Regions from separate parts of the Homo sapiens genome. Here all the other regions are linked to region 7. The links are contacts of gene promoters, found by promoter capture Hi-C in blood cells and fetal thymus (Javierre and others, 2016). All regions are on one chromosome and are shown on one strand. Each heading gives the region's core, a stretch centred on a gene start or on the middle of the fragment in contact. The rest is flanking DNA. Distances are from core to core; before and after follow the strand shown.

Evidence for each region. Contacts are between HindIII fragments. The CHiCAGO score rates a contact against its expected background, and 5 or more counts as called.
Region 1: a fragment that was not itself captured here is called in contact with the fragment with the promoter of PLA2G4A in region 7 in 1 of 17 cell types (monocytes); the score reaches 6.2 in monocytes.
Region 2: a fragment that was not itself captured here is called in contact with the fragment with the promoter of PLA2G4A in region 7 in 1 of 17 cell types (neutrophils); the score reaches 7.2 in neutrophils.
Region 3: a fragment that was not itself captured here is called in contact with the fragment with the promoter of PLA2G4A in region 7 in 3 of 17 cell types (monocytes, neutrophils and megakaryocytes); the score reaches 9.8 in monocytes.
Region 4: a fragment that was not itself captured here is called in contact with the fragment with the promoter of PLA2G4A in region 7 in 4 of 17 cell types (monocytes, neutrophils, megakaryocytes and 1 more); the score reaches 12.0 in monocytes.
Region 5: a fragment that was not itself captured here is called in contact with the fragment with the promoter of PLA2G4A in region 7 in 1 of 17 cell types (neutrophils); the score reaches 5.9 in neutrophils.
Region 6: a contact is called between a fragment that was not itself captured here and the fragment with the promoter of PLA2G4A in region 7, in 1 of 17 cell types (monocytes). The highest score is 5.4, in monocytes.

The regions. Positions count from the first base shown.
Region 1 is chr1:186,382,712-186,386,343 of GRCh38, reverse strand. It overlaps ODR4 (odr-4 GPCR localization factor homolog), which reads right to left. Exons shown (of 14, transcript NM_017847.6): 3 at 3,188-3,322; 4 at 261-356. Among named protein-coding and RNA genes, the nearest start is that of ODR4, 8.7 kb to the right of the region's middle. The HindIII fragment of the contact is 3,219 bases long and covers 127-3,345 here.
Region 2 is chr1:186,435,387-186,438,749 of GRCh38, reverse strand. PDC-AS1 (PDC antisense RNA 1) reads right to left here. Exons shown (of 5, transcript NR_126002.1): 2 at 2,177-2,392. Among named protein-coding and RNA genes, the nearest start is that of PDC-AS1, 1.9 kb to the right of the region's middle. The HindIII fragment of the contact is 3,661 bases long and covers 1-3,363 here.
Region 3 is chr1:186,406,959-186,410,313 of GRCh38, reverse strand. All of the region lies in intron 12 of ODR4 (odr-4 GPCR localization factor homolog), which reads right to left. Among named protein-coding and RNA genes, the nearest start is that of PDC-AS1, 27 kb to the left of the region's middle. The HindIII fragment of the contact is 3,306 bases long and covers 1-3,176 here.
Region 4 is chr1:186,477,242-186,480,630 of GRCh38, reverse strand. No RefSeq gene overlaps it. Among named protein-coding and RNA genes, the nearest start is that of PDC, 18 kb to the right of the region's middle. The HindIII fragment of the contact is 2,361 bases long and covers 581-2,941 here.
Region 5 is chr1:186,496,376-186,499,683 of GRCh38, reverse strand. No RefSeq gene overlaps it. Among named protein-coding and RNA genes, the nearest start is that of PDC, 37 kb to the right of the region's middle. The HindIII fragment of the contact is 725 bases long and covers 1,339-2,063 here.
Region 6 is chr1:186,516,475-186,520,076 of GRCh38, reverse strand. No RefSeq gene overlaps it. Among named protein-coding and RNA genes, the nearest start is that of PDC, 57 kb to the right of the region's middle. The HindIII fragment of the contact is 5,903 bases long and covers 1-3,602 here.
Region 7 is chr1:186,827,372-186,830,710 of GRCh38, reverse strand. PLA2G4A (phospholipase A2 group IVA) reads right to left here and starts at 1,762. Exons shown (of 18, transcript NM_024420.3): 1 at 1,676-1,762. The HindIII fragment of the contact is 13,801 bases long and covers 1-3,339 here.

The DNA of each region.
Region 1 (3,632 bases), core at 487-2,986, 440 kb after region 7:
TTTGGGTAGTGTACTAAATAAAGAATAAAATTACCCATGGAAAAAATAATAAATAAAATGTGTAGTTTTTAAAAATATAAACATTTTTTACACTCAAGATATCCAAGCAATTGAGTGACAAAAGCTTTTTCAATGTAACCCCAACAAAAAGAATTATGGAAAACAAATGTAAATATGCCTAGAATCATTACACATACTCATAATCAGTAAAAATAACATATAACTGATTTCATTAAGAATTTTCGATATATCAAACTTACTCTACGCAGGGCATTTTGAAAATCATTTGCCAGTTCTAAAGTAGTAATAATAAATACTCCAAGAACTAAAAGTCCCCCTGGTAGCATTCTGGATACCTAAAAATAGAAATATATTATTAGCTAACAAATTGGCATTATATGCAATCCTTTCTGTTTGAGAAACTGTCTGCTTAGCATGTCCTTAGCTTTTCACCTTAAAACTACTTTATAAATAAAACTATCTGATAACAACATCCTTTAGCTACATCAATAAATAAATCCTTTTCTCAGGAGATCAAAGACTGAAATATTTTTTCAATGGCGTCCCACCATCAGCTAAATAAAATGAAGTTTTATTTTAGATTGATATTTCAGACTTTCTAGGATCTGGTCAATGATGTTTATACCCTCATTTGACACTACTTTTCCTCAAGTAATTCAAATATTTGTCAAAAACTACTTGAAAAGTAGTGTCAAATGAGGCTATAAACTGTTTTCCATACACATCCTAGGCTTTCTAACTATGTGTCTTTACTCAGGGTGTTCCCTAGGCCGAAACTGACTTTTTCTTATACTTCTGCATGTCTCAACCCTACTGGATACTTCAAAGGCAGCTTGAGGAAGCTGCCTTCTCTGATCTTTTCATCTCTGAACTCCGACAGGGCTTTGGTGTAGTTTTCCCATGGATTTTATCACATAGTCTTATATCATAGTTATCTGTGAACCCTACTAGTTGGTCAGGGAGCTCCTTAAGGGAATAAGTAATTCTACCTCTGTATCCCTATTTTTAGCAGCATACTAGATCTGGAATTTGAACAGAGGGAGTCTGACTTGAAAATCCATTATTTTCTATTGCATAGATTAACCTCAAATTTTTAAGCCCACTTACTGATACTGGGCATCTTTGCTATATCTAATTTTACCTTAAAATAATATTGATTAAAAATCCTAGTACATCTTTCTGCATTCATAGAATTATTTGTTTAGGACAAATCCCTTGAGGTGGATAACTGGTTTAAGAAGTTATACATATTTTTAAGGTTTTTGATACATACTACCATGATATCTCCATATCTGTATTTCCCTTCACATGATTGTGGCTAGTTCTTAATACCACATGGATTTTTTTCTATCATCTACACTCAGAGATTAGAGTGTTTTGGTTAGCTTTTGATTACTTAATGTACAAGCAATCAATCAGAGTACAGTCTTAGAAAATTAGGTACCATGCTCTAATCCTTAATCTACTTGCACTATGTCTTTCGGTGTTTTCCTCTGATTTAATAAATTCTATTTACTATAGTAGCACAATTCTGACAAATAAAGTTTTCATATTTAGCATAAGGAGCCTGCATATCTTTTCAAAATCACCAACACAAAAAAGTAACCATTTTTTAGGAGATGGAGGTGAGAGCAAGAAAGGGGAAAAAGTAAAATTAACCTTTTCTTTCTAGAGGTAAAAGGTTAAGCTAATTTACTATATAAATTCATTAATATTCTGTGTGTGTGTGTGTGTGTGTGTGTGTGTGTGTCATATACAATTTTATGAGAGACCAAAAGCAAAATTAGAGTAGAAAGTTATTTACAAACCATTGGGAATTTAACTTTACATTACTTAATATTTTCTTTAGAAGATAGTTGCCATGTTTGTCCCCTTAAACACCATGTTGAAATGTGAACCCAAGTGGGGCCTAATGGAAGGTGTTTGGGTCATGGGGCAGATCCCTCATTAATGGCTTGGTTCCATCCTCAGAGCAGTGAATGAGTTCTCGCTATATTTGTTCCTACGAGAGCTGGTTGTTAAAAAAAAAAGCCTAGCACCTCCCAACCCCTTGCTTCCTCTCTGGCCCAGTGATCTTTACACACCAGCTCCAATCTGCCTTCTGACATGAACAGAAGCAGCCTGAGGCTTTGACCAGATGCTCAATCTTGCAGCCAGCAGAATCATGAGCCAAACAGGCCTTTTTTTCTTTATAAATTACTCAGTCTTAGGTATTCCTTAATAGCCACCCAAACAGACTAAAACAATAATAATTAAATACTGGATTTCTTCGTTTTGTTTTGTTGAGACAGAGTCTCGCTTTGTCGCCCAGTCTGGAGTGCAATGGTGTGATCTTGGCTCATTGCAACCTCCGCCTCCCAGGTTCAAGCAATTCTCCTGCCTCAGCCTCCCAAGTAGCTGGGATTACAGGCACCTGCCACCACACCTGGCTAGTTTTTCATATTTTTACTAGAGACGGGGTTTCACCATGTTGGCCAGGCTGGTCTTGAACTCCTGACCTCAGGTGATCCACCCACCTTGGCCTCCCAAAGTGCTGGGATTACAGGCAAGATTTTATTTTTTTTTTAAATATAACTACACACTGCTCCATAATCAAACACATACACAGACACAAATATATGTCCATATATATATATATATATATCTACATACACAGAAACACGTTTGAGTTTAAAAGATTTAAAGATTTAAAGTTGATTGGAAAAGGAAATAAATCTTTTATTTATTAAAGAAAATTCTTTTTCTTAAAACAAACAAACAAAAACGCAGAATGTGCAAGTCTGTCACATAGGTTTACGTGTGCCATGGTGGCTTGCTGCACCTATTGACCTGTCCTCTAAGTTCCCTCCCCTCACCCCCAACCCCAGAAAAGGAAATAATTCTATTTTTACCTTATTCTAACATTATTTATTTGATGATATATAATTCATTCAATAAATACTTGTAAGTGAATTAATTTAGTCATTATTCCCACTCACCCATCCCAAATCTGTTTCTTCCTCGTGTAATGCCAACAGTATCCTCCTAGACACCCAGACTAAAAATCTCAGTCATCTTTAGCTACTTTCTCCCTATGTCTCTTCTCTCTACTCATTCACTAAATCTTCTTGATTCTAGCTCTTTTTTGAAATAAAACTTAAACATATAAACAAAAAAATAAGATAACCTGGCAGGCATGTTCTGTGGCCCATTCTTCATCCAAGTTATCCAACTTAGCTTTGGGATGTTTGAGGTTCTCACTTTGCTCCTCTTTGGGTGGCGTTCTAGTGGCAAGAATCACATAATCCTTTTGTGACGAACACTTCAACAACAAATTAAAAAGCTTGTTAGAGTGATATCTGATTCCTCAATCTAATTAGAGTGATACCTAAATTCCTTAGCTTTTATGACATGCAAAAACTGAGTAATATTTGTAACAGGTTAAATCATTAATACCCACATTATAATGGAAGCTAAAGGGAAGCTAATTTTCAAGGATGGCCTTACAATCTTTCCCTCACATGTTGTTTATCTTTTAATGTATTTAATATCAGCTTCTTATTTATTTGGACAACTCAAATGTAAATCATGGAGTGGTCCCTAAAAATGGTTTACTGGATGAGTGAATGAAT
Region 2 (3,363 bases), core at 400-2,899, 390 kb after region 7:
ATTTTTATCCCTTTATTCTTCCAAAGCACTTATCGTTTAAATCCCCAAACTTCCAATCATTTCAACCATCTGATCTCTCTTTTCCTAACTACTAGCTGGTAAGTCCTACTCAACAAAATTGTATCTTCCTCAAAATTTCATACATATATCAACCAATCAGTGCTCTTCAACTGGGGTCCATAGCTTGTTCTGCAAACAGATCCCTCTTCCGTTTCCCACAGCAGCTATTCCAAACCTTCATTATTCTCCTCAGTCTCCCTCTCCTACATCCTTAAACGACCTTCTTTCAACATCCCAGTAGACACTGAGCCCACCAGGCATGAACTTCCCTAATTTCTTACCCCACATCTATTAACTCAGCTATTTTCCATTTTATTGTTCTCAAAGATGTGTTTCTATGTGAGACTAATATTGTCATCTGTGCTTTTAATTGGATTATAATACATTCAAATTTCTTTTTTATTCATATTACAGTTCTATCCCCTCCATGTTTTTTATTCACAACCTAAAAACAACTTTCTATCTCTTATTTAAAAACTTGTCTTGGTTCTTCCAAATTATTACTACCTATTGTCTCCAGTATTTTCCTTCTCTTCTTCATTCCCAAAACTCCTTGCAAAAACAAACAAACAAAAATTCAATTTTTCTTATTTAATCTTCTTCCTTTCTTTCCATTTATTTTTCCACCTATCTGCCTCAACTATTCCACTGAAAGTGGTTCTGATACAGATCAGCAATGACCTCTGTGTCAGGCACGTCCCTGGAAGGAAACAACACAAACAGAAAAGGTATGATTGAAGGGAGTTTAAAGAAGACTATTTGCACATGTATGTTTATTGCAGCACTATTCACAATAGCAAAGACTTGGAACCAACCCAAATGTCCAACAATGATAGACTGGATTAAGAAAATGTGGCACATATACACTATGGAATACTATGCAACCATAAAAAATGATGAGTTCATGTCCTTTGTAGGGACATGGATGAAGCTGGAAACCATCATTCTCAGGAAACTATCTCAAGGACAAAAAAACCAAACACCACATATTCTCACTCATAGGTGGGAATTGAACAATGAGAACACATGGACACAGTAATGGGAACATCACACACCAGGGCCTGTTGTGGGGTGGCGGGAGGGGGAAGGGATAGCATTAGGAGATATACCTAATGTTAAATGGCCAGTTAATGGGTGCAGCACACCAACATGGCACATGTATACATATGTGACTAACGTGCAGATTGTGCACATGTACCCTAAAACTTAAAGTATAATAAAAAAAAAAGACTGTTTACAAGGGTCTAGGCAGGAAACTAACAAAAGATAGTGAAGCACCACCTATTAACAGGTGAAAGTGACTCCTACCCACAGGCCTGGAGGGGGCAAGAAACCAGTGAGACCTGCAGCTATAGGAAAAAGCTGCCCAACAGGAGCTTTTGCTTTTGGAAGAGAAACACTGCCCCTGTCACTCTGTGGCCCAGGAGGGACAGAGCTTCAGGGAAAAACAACTTGCACTCTCTCCTCGTGCTCTTCTATCTCTTTTCAGAACCTTTCATTGTCAGAATCCAGCTGAAAGCCAGAGGACAAGAGAACCCTGTTGATGAAGTCTGTTAAGTCAACCTTCTCTAGGGATAAAACAGGATGGAGAAAGATAGAACGTGAATTTTAAGAAGCAAATGGAGAATATCCAATACACCACCTAACCACCAAGCCTGTTAGACTCAACAGTCCTCATCTTACTTAACTTTCGGCTACATTGAATGCTGATTACCAATCCCAAATTGAAATTCTTTCCTCACTTTGGTTTTCATAATACCACTCTACAGATTCTTCTCTGCTTCTGTGACCGGGGGCATGCATGCTCCTTGTCTATTGGTGTTTTTCTGGATTAGTCTCCTCCCTCACACTTCAGATGCTGTTATTCCCTCTGACGACTTCAGGTACCATCTACACCGAGGCTTCTGAAAATCACCACTGTTTACATTTTGGACCAGATAATTATTTGCTGTGGGGAGTTGTCTTGTGCATTATAGTATGTTTAGCAGCATTCCTGGCCTCTAACCAGTAGATACTATTAGCATCCCTCCCTCAGTTGCAACAACTAAAACTATCCTCAGACATTGCCGACTGTCCTCTGGAAGGTAAAAATCATCCCCAGGAAAGAACTGCTTACCTCTACATACAGAATATGTATCTTCTGTCCTGAGTTCCAGGCTGATGGAAACTTAATTACCATCATCTGTCTCCTGGACAATTGCAATCATTTCCTAAGTGGGCTCCACAACTCCCAGTTTTCATGCTCACATCAGACTGATCCAAAAAAGACTGTGAATGTGTGAGGGAATCCCAAGGCTGTCAAGCCATGCAGCTGAAAATATTCTTAAAACATCTACGAGACACATGAAAAGAAGTGGAATTGTAAGAGTTTTTGACTTACACTCTGAAACATTTGGGGATGTAGATGCTCTTCTTGATGACCTATGACTTGTGGGAGTGAAGTAGCTCTGTACAGAAATATTGTACCTCCCATTACAGGAAAAGATATTCTTTCAGAAGAAAGTAAACTCAACAGCAGCATTTCTCTAGTCAATTTTCAAAAGTTTGGTCTCTAACTGGAAGTTTAAAACGTGAAAAGAGTATAATGACTAAAATGGTACGAACATATATTTAGATAAAAATATGCAGGCTCTATGACAAAACAGTTATCTTTTACAACAATTGGATTTGAAAAAATTACACACACAATACACACACACACACACATATATTATATACACAAACAATAATCATTTTAACTTGACTTTTCAAGATAGGTGCTACTGCAGTAACTCCTGTGCTTTTAATAACAAAAATTTGAAAAATCATTTAAGAACAAATACATTTGTCATAGGTAGTTGTTTATATGCCTTGCTATGAAAATAAAGTACCTCATGAATAAGTTAGATATTGCATTCCTGAAACATATATAAAAGTCAAATACTATGTATGTTCATAATTACTAAAGAATTGATGTAAAGACAGTATAATCCATGCTGTGGAATAGCTTTGTTGCACCAAAGATAGCCAACATTTTTATGATGTGTTATGTTACATAATTATTTCACATACATTATCTCACTGGAAGAACTACGAGACACAATTGCTCTATGAGGTAGGTAGAACAATGTTTTCAATATGTCCTCCTCAAGGATGACAAAATTGAAGTGTTTGTGGTTAGCTGACTAGTCCAGGTTATGCAACCAGGAAGATATAGAGGTTGAATTTAACCTTGGGCCTCCCATCCCTGGTTCCTGTGCTTTTCATATCACAGCATACTTCATACTGGCAATCATCAATGCAAAGAATGCATTAACAAAAAAA
Region 3 (3,355 bases), core at 274-2,773, 420 kb after region 7:
AATGTTCTGAACTACTGAGCCATACAGCTATGAATATTATAGACTTTTTAAACCCTCAACATGTTCAATATACTATACTACACAAATCTTAAAAACCTTGTCTGTACAGGCATAAGCTAATAATTTCTCAAGTATGAAATAAATGTGAAAACAAGAAGTGCTGTAGTTTCCTAAGAATCACTTATTCAGTATTTATGAATCAGTAACAAATAATTAGGAACACCTACCATGTTTTAGGTACAGATAAATACTCTACTTACTCTCAAAAATCTTATAGTCTAATGTGAAAGATCAACATTAAATATGCAATTGATGATTTAAATAATTACAAGTATGTAAAGTATTATAGAAGAACAGCATAGAAGAGGGAACTACAAGAAAGTTTAGTGAAGGAGTTTACCTAGTCTGAACAAGTCTGAAGTTAGTAAAAACATAGTATCTACACAGACATTTTTTTAAAAAACTCTATTGGCTGGCCTTGGTGACTAACACCTGTAATCCCAGCACTTTGGGAGGCTGAGGCAGGCGGATCACAAGGTCAGGAGTTAGAGAACAGCCTGACCAACATGCTGAAACCCCATCTCTATTAACAATACAAAAATTAGCTGGGCTTGGTGGCACGCACCTGTAATCCCAGCTACTCAGGAGGCTGAGGCAGGAGAATCGCTTGAACCCGGGAGGCAGAGGTTGCAGTGAGCTGAGAATGCAACATTGCAATCCAGCTTGGGAGACAGAGCGAGACTCCGTCTCAAAAAACAAACAAACAAAAATCTACTTAGCTCCTTGAAGACAGAATCAGCATTTTGTTGTTCTTTGGACTCTAATCCATAGGACAAAATAAATAATTTATTCAGTCAACAAATATCTACTGAATACCTATGACATGCTAAGGCTAAGCTCTTAGTAAAGTGCTAGAAACACAACAGTAAGCAAGAGAGGCAAAGGCCCTTTTTGCTCTTTCAACAGATGTTTGCTGAAATGCACATGTAACGGTTTCATGAGAATTTGAATTTATTGGGTTTTAGTTTTGGTTTTGGGAGGCTGTCATGCCAGGTTGCCATAGTTACCTCTTAGGAATACATTACAGTGGTTGAAGCTACTTAATTTTTTTTTTTTTTTTTGAGACAGGGTCCTACTCTGTCACCCAGGCTGAACGGCAGTGGTGTAAACACGGCCCATTGAAACTTCTACAGCTAATTTTTGTATTTTTATTGTAGAGACAGGGTTTCACCATGTTGCCCAAGTTAATTTTTTTTAATGTCTTAGCAATGTAAAGAAAGAATATAAACCTCTGTTACTAACTGTTTGTTAAAATATTAACTTAAAAAGAACTGAATAAAACAGTCTTAAACTAGTCTATATACTTGTGTTTAACATACAACATGAAATTAAATGAGTTAAAAATACTTAAGACAGAAATATTTTTAAGAATTATTTAAAAAACCTAGATGAAATGACTCTCTCTTCCTATTCTTTTATATCTGACTTTTAAAGTAACTTGTGAATGGGGCAAGTTTTGCATACAGTGCTACCCTTAGTCATTCTTAGTTTAAGAATGTGAGATGCACAAGAATGTGACAAATAATTCAAAAAATTATATATAAACATGATATATTTTATATTTTTATAAGAAAACAATACATTTTTGTATATTGTTTATATTATATATTTTATAAACATATTCATATAAACATATAAACATGTTCACATATATAAACATTTTTGTTTACATACATACACAAATTGTTTATATTACATGTTTATGTATGTATATGTTTATATTATATATAAACATTATATATTGTTTATATGTTTATATAAACATAAATAATGAGATCCAAGATTCCAGCCAACAAATGAGAAATTATATTGACATAATCTAGATGAAATTAAACCAAGATAATGTAACATCATCCATTTACACTTGAAAATGTTTAAAGGGATGGAATGAAGAACGCCAGGCTAAAATATGTATCTATATCATGGAAAATAATCATACTATACTTCATTATTTAGCTCCTACACAAAGGCAGTAAAATAAAATTTTTAGAAAAGAAGCACAGACCCTAAAACCAAACTGCCTAAGTTTAAATTCCAGCTCCACCATTACGAGCAATGTAACTTTGAAAAGTTACCTGGCCTTTCTGAGCCTTAATTCTCTCATCTGGAAAATAGGATTAATAATGTTATTTACATCACAGGGTTGTTACAAGGAATGATAATTTAGTATTTGTAAGACTCTTAAAACTGTGCCTGGCAGATATATAAATAATGGCTATATTATTTTTAGAGCATTAGCTTCGTCAGGGTAACATATTTCAAGGAAGGCAAATCAGAGTATATTTAAGAAGTAATTTTTAAACTCTTTGAAAGCGATAGACCTTTTCTTCAGAAAAAAAATCATACAATTACTTTCAAGTGGTTTGTGGATCTTCTAAAAGTTCAGCTCTGACACCAGAGGTTTTGAACCCCACAGGTTAAAAATTCCTAATCTACCGGAAAGCAAACAAGGTGGTAAGAAAAAAATGTGGTCTGGAAACTGTAATAAAATGAACAGCTTAAGGTAGGTGAGAATATATGGCTTTGAAATGTTTAGAACATAATAGTTGCTCTCAAATTTAAAGCATGGTCTCAGTGAGGAAGTGGTACTCATGTTTTATTGCTGCATATTACTGAAAGAATAGGTTACAGGGAGGCAGATTGGTATTTAGAATAAAGAAGAATAGAATCTGAATCCCCATCTGCTAGGGATGTAGTTTTCAGTATTAAGAGGTTAAATTAGGTCAATTTGAATGATCCTACCAACATTATAAGATCTATTCAACAACAGAATGGCTCAAGAACTATTGCTAGGCCTTAACGATAGAGAAGTGAACAAAACAAACAAAAATCCCTGTCCTCATGATCCTAAGTTTCGTTGGCAGAGATAATGCAGTCACTAACCAAGGAAAATAAATTTTGGAAAGCAGTAAACATTTTTACCAGTCTACTTTCAAAAAGCAGATACTTTCCATCTGCTACAGTTATATCTTTAGAAATATTAGTTTTCATGGAACTATGCTAGAGTTGTATCTTTAAAAATATTAGTTTTCATGGGATTAGAAAGTAGCTCTTCTTTATTTTAACATCAGGCATTGGGCAATTTAGAAATTTTATTTTCCCCACTGAAACAAGCTTATTGCTCTACATCACGATCTGGTATTGCTGAAAAACTAAAGGGTGGTTTGCAACTAACTTGAGGCAGTTTACTATAGATTTGAAGTTCCCCAATCAAATACTTACTTGACTCACTATAATCTCAAGCACACTCTGAATCAAACACCCTATTCCTGAAGGGAGAATTAACTATGCAAAG
Region 4 (3,389 bases), core at 512-3,011, 350 kb after region 7:
AGGAAAGACCTCAAGGAACAGCAGGAATACAAATTTAGACATGGAGGGAAATGGTATTCGATTCCTTAAACGGCTCTAGTGTCTGAACCAGGGTAAAGAAAGCAGCCACAGCTGGTGGAGCTGCTCCTTCCAGTAAAGGCCAGTGCAGAGTCCTAAACTGGGTTCTCTTTTAGTCTTTGACCTTTTTTTCCCACTCAGAAGACAACATACTTTAGGTGAAGGATCAATTTTTAGTTTTCAATCCCTAAGGATGATATTCAAAATATTTTCTTAAAAAAAATAGGGCAACATGGTGCTCTGTCTTCAGAACAGATTCAGGATATAAGCAACAGTATTTACTTACCATATTGTTTCCTCTACCTCTAGCTCCATTTCAGTGTCATTTTTCATTCTTCTTAGTTTTCTATTTTAGTAAAATTTAAATACCATAACTTAAAGTAATCCCAATATTTTTTAAATAAAGCCAAAATATGTGTTGTTTATAACTATGGCAAAGAACATAATTTAGTTTAAGCTTCACATAGTCATGTAGCTACATAGAATATTTTAAAAAGAAAATCAAACAAGAATCTTACAAGCTTGACACCATCAACATGGTGAGTTAACATACAAATTTCCTGAGGTGCTGATCACATTTGAATTGCACATTTAACATATTGAAAGATATTAAGAATTTTAAGGTGGAAAACAAGAAAATATATAGTCCATATGTAAGGAGGAATACTATATCTCAGATGTAGCAATATTACTAGAAAAATAGCTATATATAAGTAATAGGAATAAAAACCCATGTGGAATCAAATTAATGTCCACATCTTGGTCCCAACTTTTATTGGCTCTGGGATCTTGAGCAAGTTACTCAACCTCTCTTAATCTGTTTCTTCATCAATTAAATTATAATAATAATGCTCCCTCCAATCAGTTTATTGTGACAATCACAATGAAATCATGTCAGTGAAAGTATTTTGTAAATTATTAAAAGTAATCCAAATATTACCTAATTAAGCATTAAAATAACAATAATATTATTAAGCTAAATCCTAAGACAGTTTCAGATTCCCTCTAAGAAAAGTTTTCTTTATGAACTATTCTTTAAGGTACTAGATGTGTGATAACAATGTAAAACTTGACAAATGGTTTAGGGACTAACACTGGATTAAAAAGGCAGGTGGGCTCAACAATCTCTCATCACCATGACTGCAGCTTTGCACTTCATCCTTGAAAATTAATGTTATTTATAGATAAAGCTGCCCAGTTAAATCTCACAAGAGGATTACAAGACTGCCAATTAAGACGAAGCCCCAGCAGGTGGGGTTTATGTGAGCTGATAAAACAGGTTCTGGCAAAGCACTTGCAAAAGTGAATTCCACAATCACTGACCCTCCCATACCGTATTCTTTATTTAAAAAAAAAAAAGAACAAAAAATAAGAGCTGATATTAAATAGACAGATTTAGGTTAGAAGAAAAAATAAGAGCCTGGTATTAAAGGATAGATTCCACCTAAAATGCTCTGTGGGTTATACAGAGAATATATGTGTTCTATATACCTAGATTTTGAAAATTGCTAATACTAAGAATTCAAAAGGCAATCTGAGGTTTTCAAGGGTATCTCGATGTAAATTATATTTGTCAATTATAATAATATTCTTTTACATACAATATTAGATTCTTCATTTATGCTTCAGGCCCAAATTTCCATTTGTATTTAGGGCATCTCTCCCTGGGCTACCCAAATGTACTTCATATCATTATGTTCAGAATCCTCTTTGTTCCCGAACCTCCCTCATGAGGGTTTGATCTCAGTGAATAGTATCACTCAGTGATGCTCAGTGACTAATATCATCATCTTTGACTCCTTCCTCACCCCTCTCCCACCACTGTCATTAATTAATTCATCCCTTTGGCTTCTATCTCTGAAGTGTCTTTTGTATTCATTCATTCCTCTGTTCCATTGCTTTTGCCACTACCCTTGTCCAGGGATTCATCATATTTCAACTAAACTATCTGTACAATGTCTTAACTGTTTTCACTGACTCTTTCACCTTTCCAAATGTACTTTCCACATTCCTGACATAGAAATCTTCTAAACAATAAGGCAGTAAGATTAAAACTCTTTAGCAAGGTAGTTAACAAACTAGGGTATATCTTTTAGTCTTATTTCTAAATTGATGTCTCCACAAATTCTATTCCCTAGTTCCACCACACACTATAATAGTCACCCTTCCCTGAATACTGTACTTCATAGTTCTGGGCTTTTAGTTATATCATTCCCTGCATCTAGAAAATCCTCACTCCCTTCTCTAAATACTAGCATGCATTTATTTTTAAAAATCCAGTTCAGGTACTATTTTCTCCACCTCTTTTCATTCAAGCTGCACCCCAAACTAAAAATTCATCACTGCTTCCTACACTCTTACAAAGCCCTGTTTATATCCCTAAAAGAGGACCCTTCTCACACATGCATATTGTTTTCTTACTAAATTGTAAGTCCAAACACTGTAAGCATGTCATTTTTAGCTTGGTATCCCCTATGATTTTTGGGTGTGTGTGTGTGTGTATGTGTGTTTTATCCATAAGTAGCTCATTGCATGTTCACTAAAAATAACGACTACCCTTAAATGAGTGCTTATTAAATATCAGACTCTATCTCCCACCTTTTACACTATGTTAATTGAGTCATTTAATCCCCAAAATAAATCTATGAAGTAGCTAAATTTTACATGTAAAGTAGCAAATGCCCTACGAAGTTAAGCAACTTACCCAAGGCCAACACTAGTCTGGTGTCAGGACAGGAATCAAGGTCTTTCATAATTAATACCTTCTGCCCTCAACCAATTCATTACGTAGCCTTAAACGTCTATCTCTGGGTAGTCAAATACAAAAAAACTATAGTGGATTAAAAGGCTATATATGAACACTGACTGAAAACATAGAGAAGCTTTACTCTAGAGCATTGGTGCCTAAAGGTATTATGGCTAGAATTCATAAATGTAAACTCTGTTTAAAGAATACTATTTCCTACCTCATAAGACTATTTTGGAGAATAAGTGAAATGCAGCATGTAAAAGGCCTAGCACAGTACCTGAAACACAGTAGGAGCTGAAATATTAGGTTGGTGCAAAAGTAATTGCAGTTTTTGACATTAAAAGTAACATGTTCATATTATTTTCTCAGTTGTGAATAGTATAGAAATTATACCCAGACTTATTTCCTATATCACAAAATCCCAGGGCAAGGAGATGTGCTTTCAATGCATAGTGGCCTGAGTGTCAGACAAAAGGAAGTGTTGTTTTAAATTTACACATAAATTTAATAAATTTATAAAACATTTCAGCATATCTGATATAGATAGAAAAAATGAATGGATTAATAACTGTTTGGACGAAGT
Region 5 (3,308 bases), core at 452-2,951, 330 kb after region 7:
TAAAGTTACAGGCAGAGGTGGGCCTGAAATTCCCTCCTAACACAATTATACACAATGGGAGAAAGGTAAATCCTCAACTAAATCAGTTCTACTAGAAAGAAGAATAGATGCTAATCAACACCACCACCAAAAAAAGATAGTTGTTTGCTAGAAAGTGAGAAAAGGAGAGAGTAATATGGTCCTTAACAAAAGAGAGTTTTATAGCTTCCTTATGTTATTAGGTTATTATAAGAACACAGGAAGTATTCACTTATCAAATGCATTTCTTTCATGCAGGGTCATGTAGTTGAAGACACTTTAGAATAATACAAACCTTAATTCAAACCAGGGTCTGTCATTAAGTGGATGCTTTGGGGCAAGTTCCTTAACCTTTTTGCATCTGTTACCCCGAGAGTTGTCTAGGGGATTCTGAGTTAATATGTATAGAATGCCTGACACGTATCCTGCACTAAATAAACATTAGTTTTCATCCCCTGTGTATTATTAGTCAGGGTTTGTCAGAGGAACAGAACTAATAGAATGTGTGTGTGTGTGTGTGTGTGTGTGGTGTGTACCATAGATAGATAGATAGACAGATAGATAGATTTATTTTATATATAAAGAGATTTATTTTTAAGGAATTGGCTCACTGAGAATAGAGGCTAAAAGCCCAAAATCTACAGGGCGGGCCAGTAGAGACCCAGAGAAGGGCCAGTGCTACAATTCAAGTCCAAAGGCCATCAAGCTAAAGACTTAGGAGGGAGCCAGTATTGTAGTTCAAATATAAAAGTAGCTACTTGCAGAATTCCATCTTGCTCAGGGGAGGTGAGTCATATGTTCTATTCACGCCAACAACTGATTAGATATGGGCCACCTTTATCATGGAGGGCAATCTGCTTTACTCAAAGTTCACAAACTTAAACATTAATCTCATCCCAAAACACCCTTATAGAAATATCCAGAATAATTTGTGACTACATATCTGAGTACTGTGGCACAGCAAGTTGACATATAAAATAAGCCATCTCACCCTAAGAGATGTTATTATTCCACAAAATAGTCTGTCTTTTTCTGGATTCAGCAAAGCACTTCATATTCTGTTAAAACTAGTTGGGAAAAAGGTGCCTGAGACTGGACCTATTGTAGTGATAGGGGTGGCAGGCGTGAGATATGAAATAGCAGTTCCCAGAGGTCAAGTACTCAAGTTTTAGAAAAGGCTCACTCTCAAGGAGTCCTTTGCTATAGCAAGAAAAAGGTATGGCTAGACTCCAAAGAAAATGGTAATATCACCAACACCAACTTCTATCAGCAAATTTTTAACCTGATTTAAAAAAAAAATGAGCTCATTATCTGCAAGCTTGTGACTGAAGAAAACAAATGGCTTTAGGTAACATGGCACATACCAAGAGATGAACAAATATTTACAAACAAGATTCTCATGAAACACGTTCCCCAGGCTGAAAAAGCAGGTAGGGTTCACAAGAGGCTCCTGGATGACCGCTGTAGTTGGACTGTGTCTCCCAAATTTCATGTGTTGGAAACTTAATCCGCAATGTGACAGTGTTGAAAGGTACGACCTGTAAGAGGTTACTGGATCATGAGGGCTCTTTCCTCATGAATAGATTAATGCATTCATGGATTAATGAATTAGTGAGTTATCATGGGGGAGGAGCTGGAGGCTTTCAAAGAAAAGGAAGAGAGATCACAGCAAGCGCATTAGCACATGCCTCCCTATTGCCATGTGATGCTCGGGATTCTTCATGGTACCCACCAGAAAGAAGGCGCTCAACAGATGCACTCTCTCAACCTTGGACTTCTCAGGTTTCATAACTGTCAGAAATACATTTCTTTTCTTTATAAATTACCCAGTTTCAGGTCTGTTATAAACCACAGAAAATGGTCTCATAAAATGACTATGCTGAGGCCACTAGTGCTTTAAGAAGCAGCTACAGGCCAAGAAGGAAAAGATTATCCAGACCTTGTCCAAAAAGACAGAGATTAAGAAATAAATCTCCTCCTCTTTTATCTGTACCTAGTGGCTTCATCAACAACAGATGATATTTAGAAAAAAAAAAACCCAAGCTTTTATCGGGGGGAAATGATTAAGGCAAAGAAACAAAATATCTAAGAAATTTAATAATATAAGTGATCAAAATAATACCACTAAATGAAAATTAATGTAATATTTGAATTTAACCATATGAAATTGCTATTTTTTTTTTTACCAGTTTTAACTTATGAAAATGGCAATTTCTTATGCTTCTGTTTAATATAAGAATAAGAGGCCAGGTGCCATGGCTCGTACCTGTAATCCCAGCACTTTGGGAGGCCTAAGCAAGCGGATCCCCTGAGGTCAGGAGTTCAAGACCAGCCCGGCCAATGTGGCAAAACCCCGTCTCTAATAAAAATACAAAAATTAGCCAGTGTGGTGGCAGGCGCCTGTCATCCCAGCTACTCGGGAGCCTGAGGCATGAGAATCACTTGAAACCTGGAGGCGGAGGTTGCAGTGAGCTGAGATCCTGCCACTGCATTCCAGCCTGGGAGATAGAGTGAAACTCTCTCAAAAAATAAATAAATAAATAAATAAATAAATAAATAAATAAATAAATAAAAAGAGTCAACGCCGGCACAGTGGCTCACTCCTATAATCCCAGCACTTTGGGAGGCTGAAGCAGGCAGATCACTTGAGCCCAGGAGTTAGAGACCAGCCTGGCCAACATGGCAAAACCCTGTCTCTACTGAAAATACAAAAATTAGCTGGGCATGGTGGCACACACCTGTAATCTCAGCTACTCGGGAGGCTGAGGCACAAAAATCACTTGAACTTTGCAGGCGCAGGTTGCAGTGAGCCGAGATTGCACCACTGCACTCTAACCTGGTAAGAGTAAGACCCTGTCTCAAAAAAAAAAAAAAAAAAAAAGAAAAGGGTTAAGAGTCAAGATGAAGCAAACAGGCAAATCCTGTCCTGTAAGTTATATCATCATTCCAAGTCCAAGGGAATATAGTCGATAATTGTGAAAGGGAAGCAGAATTAAATATTTTAAATGCTGACAATTCAATAATATAAAATCATGGCCTTGAAATCTACTAGAGCTAGTAGAACAACTAAATATGATGCTGATGCAGAATGTAATGTGTATCAGACACATTTCTACAATAGAAAGAACTGCTCTCCTTTCTCTTATAAGCAGGGAAGATGGTTTGGCATGGCAAGAACAAGACTCTTTGTGGGCTTGGGGATTAGGGATTGGGGGAGAATAACATATGTTTGTGTATGTATATGTAGGTGTAAATGTGTGTGCATTTGTACATATAGATATAGGAGTATG
Region 6 (3,602 bases), core at 42-2,541, 310 kb after region 7:
TTTCCTTAAGGCATTTTCATTCCAAGCATTTATAACTGATATAACAGTTAAAAAATTAATAACACAATCATTGTTTATTATAATTTTGTTGAGCCTTTTCTAACAAATATGCAGCAAAAATCTCACATAAATGTCAACAGTTAACACAACCTCCATAGCAAATTTTCTGCTTGTTGTACTATACAACTAGTCACTTCAAAGATTTGGTAAGTTGAAGGGTCAGTTTTCCTGTTGAAGTTGATGCCCTTGGGGGTTGGAGTGCTTTCTTAAGGTGTGAAATATGGATCCAGGAGTTTATTTTCTGTAATTTGGAAATACAAAGATTAGTTAACAACACTTGATAAACTTCATCTCATCAAGTTTCCAGAGAAGGTTTGGATATAAAGTACTTCTTATAAACAAAGTCTCCTGATTAGATATGATGTAGTGTGTCATCATCTCCTAGAAGCTCTTTCATAAAGCATCATTTACAAGTTGATAGTTACAATTCACTTGGGTGATTAGTCCTTTGCATTACTGAAGTACTGGTTCTTTAATAAGGATGGAGTCAGAACGAACTAAGGGTGATGGCATAGGTATGCCTATAACTATCTCATAAGAGGCTAGGTGATGTTTTTTTAAGGGGATAGCTCTCAGATTCATCAATACTAATGGTAAACAGTTTGGCAAGGCAATTTAATCATACATATATTTTCCCAATTGGGTTTTTACTATTCCATTAGTTCTTTAAATGAATCCTGAAGATTGTATGCACAATGAAAGTACTAAAATGTAGGTTATGCCTTGCCTATAGTTGGAATTGGAGACTCTGTCTCATGAAATGTGTATGCTGGTTTCTGTGTAACTCTTTAGAAACACCTCAAAGAGGCGTTATTTTTTCTAGTAACACTTTCACTACTGCCATGGCAGTTGCTTGATGACAAGAGAAGGCTTCTGCCCAATTTGAATACATGCAGACCATAACCAAAACATATTTGTAATCTCAAAAGGGAGGTAACTGGATAAAATACAACGGAAATACTTCAAAGAGGGCTTCTAGTAGGTCAAATTTTCCCCTTGAAACTTTTATGGGTTTTCCCAGGTTAAACTTTGGACACGTTGTACATGTGTTACTTACCTGTTCTGCCTCAGAACAGAATTTTCCCCACCAATATTGTTTTGTTTATGCAAACATTTTATCATCTGTCCAGTGAGCTAAATCATGGAGTTTTTCTAACAAACACTTTGATAACGTTTTAGGTAATATAGGTTTTTTCACTGAGACCTTTCCAGAGATCCTTTTGTGTATTTAAATAGTAGTCTTGTTCTTTCATTTATTAATCTAACTGACAAATGCATGTTGTTGTGTATGTCTTGTTATAGTTTCCATGGATTCCTCAGGGGGCATAATGAGAGAGGATGCCAGGGAGGTCATGGGGCATACATTTACACTTAGTTTATAACAAAACCAGGAGTCATAGCTGCTCCTATGATCAGCTAATGCATTTCCTTTTGCCTCTTTAGTATCTTTAGTGCAGTGGGCTGGCACCTTATTTATAGCCATTTTCTTAGGTAATTGAATGGCATTTAGTAATTCATTAACTAGAGCACCATTTTTTATGTGATGTCTGGATGAAGTTAAAAACCTCTCTATTCAGACAAGACCATAAGAGACAGAGAGAGTGAGAGAGAGAGAGAGAGAGACCTCTCTGTTTCCAAAGCATTCCAAAATTATGGTCAACACCAAAAGTCTGTCAACTATCTGTGTGTGTATATGTATATGTATATATATATTTTTTTTTTTTACAGTGTGTTTTCTGGCCAGAGTGCAGGCCCAAATTATTGCCTATAATTTAGCTTGCTAAACACTCATATATGAAGGAAGAGTCCCACCATCAACTTCATGTTCTTTTGAGGCTATAGCATACCTGGTTTGTAAATCTCCATCCTTGTTTTTTAAGTCAGAAGCCATTTGTAAACCATCCAAAATCAGCATTTTTTAAACTGTAATTATTTTAAATCAGGTCTTGATATGGTTATGCGATGGTTAATATTGAGTGTCAACTTGATTGGATTGAAGGATGCAAAGTATTGTTCCTGGGTGTGTCTGTGAGGGTGTTGCCAAAGGAGATTAACATTTGAGTCAGTGGACTGGGAAAGGCAGACCCACCCTCAATCTGGGTGGGCACCATCTAATCAGCTGCCAGCATGATCAGAATAAAAGCAGGCAGAATAATGTGAAAAGACTAGGCTGGCTTAGTCTCCCACCCTACATCTTTCTCCCATGCTGGATGCTTCCTGCCCTCGAACATAGGACTTCAGCTTTGGAATTCCGACTGGCTTCCTTTTCCTTAGCTTGCAGATAGCTTATTATGGGACCTCACCTGGTGATCATGTGAGTCAATACTCCTTAATAAACTTCCCATTATATATGAATCTATCCTATTAGTTCTGTCCCTCTAGAGAACCCTAATACAGGTTATGTGATTGGTATAGGCTGCACAATCACATTCTAAAAGGCTTGTAATCCCAATGGTTAAACATCAGCAGTATTAAGACTGGTGGTTTTAAAGAATTTTATATTATGTGATGAGAGAAAAGTAAACTCATTGTGTGAGGGGGCTTGTAGATAGATTATGAGTATGTTGGGAATTTAAGAGAGTCTCAACAAAATGTGGAACATAAAGGTTTAAGACTTATGCAAAATGCTCTCTGATACTGCCTTGACCATAAGGTAAGTGGCAGAGATAGTATCAGAGAGAGGATAGAAAGGACTGAGCAAGTGGATCAAGTTTCTCAGAGAAATAGTCAAGAGGTCTCTGGCTATTGCCATGTTTCTAGGTTAGAATACCGAAAGCATGCCCCTACTTTTTATACACATATTAATTAAATTCTAAATCATAGTTAGGATATCCCAAAGTAGGGGGAAAGCAGAATGATGTTTTTAAAAAATTTTTAAAAACTTCCTCTATCTCTGTTATTCATTTTATTTATCAGGACTTCCCTTTAATGAAGGGATTTAGCTAAAACAGAAAACTCGGGTATCCGTTACCAGCAATATCCAACCAATCCCAAGAAATCTCGTAACAATTGAGAAGTTTTAGGTTTGCGGAATTGCTGGACCCCTTTTATTCTTTCTGGGTCTAATCACTTTCCTTTAGCAGATATTAAATCTCCTAGAAACTTAAATGATGGTTGTGTTATTTCTAGTATTTTCTTACTCACTTTATGTCCATGTTCAGCTAAAAAGATTAGTAATATAAAGGAGAACACACTAAAAGGGAGAACACACTAAAAGGTCATCTACATATTTTAGCAAAGAAAACCCATGTTTTAAAGATAGATCTCTAAGATCTTTGCTAAGGGGGTCTGAGAAAAGTATGTGGGACTGTCAGTATATCCCTGAGGCATTACAGTCCAGGTATATTGTTGATTTTTCCATGCAAAGACAAAAATTATCTGTCTTTATATACTGGCATGCTAAACAAAGCACTACACAGATTCACAACACAAAAGAAAATACTATCCTGAGGAATGAAAGAGAAAAGGGTATGGGGATTTGGCACAAGAGGGTGATGGGGAATTACTCTATTATTGATGCTCTAAGATCTTGGACAAAATAC
Region 7 (3,339 bases), core at 513-3,012:
CTAAAAATCTATTTAATAATTTTTCTTTTCCTAATTAAATGTAAATGCAAAAATGCAAAACACTTCAGAATAACTTACTTTTTTTTTTTTTTTTTTTTTTTTGAGACAGAGCTTCGCTGTTTTCGCTCAGGCAGGAGTGCAATGGCGCGATCTTGGCTCACTGCAACCTCCACCTCCTGGGTTCAAGCGATTCTCATGCCTCAGCCTCCCAAGTAGCTGGGATTACAGGCACCTGCCACCACGTCCGGCTAGTTTTTCTATTTTTAGTAGAGATGGGGTTTCACCACGTTGGCCAGGCTGGTCTCGAACTCCTGCCCTCAAGTGATCCACCCGCCTCGGCCTCCCAAAGTGCTGGTATTACGGGCATGAGCCACTGCGCCCAGCCAGAATAACTTACTTTTTAAAAATATGTTAAAAAGATGCAATGTCTTATCTCAAAAAATATGCTTCCCCTAAGGGAAGTTTGTAAAACTCCTTTGAGCAAATGCACATTAAACACTTCTCTATGCATTTCACAATTATTGCTTAATTTAAAATTTAACTCTTCCGGAGCTAATGAAAGAAGTAAATACCTGTTTCTTATCCCAACCTCTAACTTGATTGGCAAGGTGTAGGAACCTGTAGAATGTAACTTTAAAATTCTTAACAGAGCTTGTTTCACTACAGTCCTCTACAAATATCCCTTGAGCCACAATTCTAAATTTAAACAACAAAGAGAAACAAAAATACAAATCTTCTTTGAACTCAAATTATATTGGCAAATATAACTTTAGAATTGACACCCATTCAGACAGTACGCCTCTAATACTCTCCATCTGCCTTAGCTGAATAAATGCTGACATCATCAACCCATATGAGGAGTATTTCTTGTTCTGGTTTTGGAGGTGAATTTATTTTTAAGACTAAAATGATTATAAATTGTAGGAGACAGATACATTCATCCACTGATACTTTAAAATCAAATACCTTTTTTTTCTGTTTTTTTTGGAAACAAAATTACTGAAATATCCACACTCAAAATTTAACTATGTAATTTGATCAAATCTTTTCTAGTATCTAGTTTTGAGATTTTTTTTTTCTCTTGGCAAGCCAAGTAACTTAGGGGAAGGGTGGATCATCAGAACACCAGTCCGTTTACAGTTAATTTTTCAATAATCCTCTTTCTTTCGCATAATTCTGCAAAATATTGACTAGCCAGGAAAGCGTCCCATAAGTAACAAAAATGACCAATTTTTAGAAATTAAAAGTTAAGTGAGTCAACAAAGTCTCTCGCTAAAGATCGCTAGGGCTGTCAAACAGCACAGCATGCTGCTGCTCAAGTTTGGGGATCAGTAACCATTGGGTGTCATCACGTGGAACGCTAATAAGCGCCACCTCACCGCCGTTTTGAATGCTAACTTTCTGGGATTCCAACCCAAAGAAACACCTTAATCTTTGACTCCACAGTGCATTTAGATCCAGGAAGGCAAATCTGCGTGGGTTTGAAGAAAATTGAGGTCCCTAATCTGTGTTTCACTTCAAAAGGCAGAGGACATGCTGACTTTTTAAAGCAGCGAGGTTTCCCCTCCGTCCTTTCTTCCTTCCAAGTAAACTACCAAGTAAAAGCTAAGGAGGGTGGGAGAGAGAAGTGGAGCAGAGGAAGAATAAATATATTGCTTACAGTTCCCAGAGTTACCTGAGAATCTTCAGGCTCCTCAATGCCTCTAGCTTTCAGTCAGGATCCTTTTTCAGCTCCGGACTTAGAGAAAGTCTTATCCTGAGTAGGAGGGGCTAAAATGTGGGCTGGTCTCCTTGCGCTTTTGCAGATGTTTTAAGGTGGAATTAAAGGGGAAGAGGGAGAACGCTCTCTTCTCATAGAAGCTAATATTGTAAATGTAAATGCTTAGTTATTAGAACCAGGAGTTTGAAGTCAGAAAATATGCTTAAATAATATGTAAATTAATCAGTCCTAAATTCCATGAGTGCTGTTGTGGATTTCTGTGTGTGTGATGTGTGTGTGTGTGTGTGTGTGTGTGCGTGCGCGCGTCTGAAATTGCTACTTGTCCTTAAGTAGTAACTACTTCCTCCTTTTTTCCAAAGGAGAACAAAATTGAAAAGACAGTGAATAACCTAGAGCATTTTTGCATTATTTAAAAAGGCAAAGTTTATAACAAACCCCAAATATAAAAATGTACATTTTTAAAAAATGAGTATCAGACCACTTTAAAAATCAAATCTGTTTAAATATTTCCACTCCAGACTCAGAACACCTGTGTTGATAATAATTTCTTTGTAAATTTAAGATTAAAGGCATACCAAATAATGTAATATATATGTTGAGATTTAGGGAAGAAAATGAAATCAGGTTGAATTCCAAATTTGCAGTGTAAATCCAAATACCTTATAGCACTGTAATGAAGAAGGTGCATTGTTTAAATGTACCCAAATTCCATGAGAATCAATTCATGTCTTTAAAGATTGACATGTTCATTTAGTATATCTTGTTTTTCAAACACAGGATCTTGTTTTTGCCTTTAATTAAATACTGAACTCACTCTCCTAACTCTCTTACAATATTTTCAAAGAATATAATTTCACTAAATCTTCTGGAATATCTGCTTTCTGTAGCCCAACATTCAACTCTTATTTGTTTTTATTTTTTTCCCCTAAATTCAACCTGGCATATTATAAATCTCTCTTTGAAAAAAAAAAAAGCCAGTAATGTCTTTTTTAGGAAGGATAGATTTATAATAAACATTTTTCGGGCTGGGCACGGTGGCTCACGCCTGTAATCCCAGCACTTTGGGAGGCCAAGGCGGGCGGATCACGAGGTCAGGAGATCGAGACTATCCTGGCTAACACGGTGAAACCCCCGTCTCTACTAAAAATACAAAAAATTAGCCGGGTGTGGTGGCGGGCGCCTGTAGTCCCAGCTACTTGGGAGGCTGAGGCAGGAGAATGGCGTGAACCCGGGAGGCAGAGCTTGCAGTGAGCCAAGATTGCGCCATTGCACTCCCGCCTGGGCCACAGAGCGAGACTCCGTCTCAAAAAAAAAAAAAAAAAAAAAAAAAAAAAAAAAAAAAAAAAAAAAAAAAAATTTCTCTTTCCAAAGAAATCCCTGAATTTCTAGAAAGGAGGTGTATGTTAATTAGAGGAGCAGAGAGCACACTGGTAGTTTTCATCTCTTTCCCCCAGACACAACTGGTGAAAGAAAGAATCTATACTGCAGGGCATGTTCGTTCTAAGACTCTGATAAAAAAGACTCCCTGGAAAAGCAGCTTCACAGTGCTTGCTTATAGAGCACAAAAAAAGTGCTCTAGTGCTTTTTTGATAACAAAAAGTTATAGCTCTCAATATTTC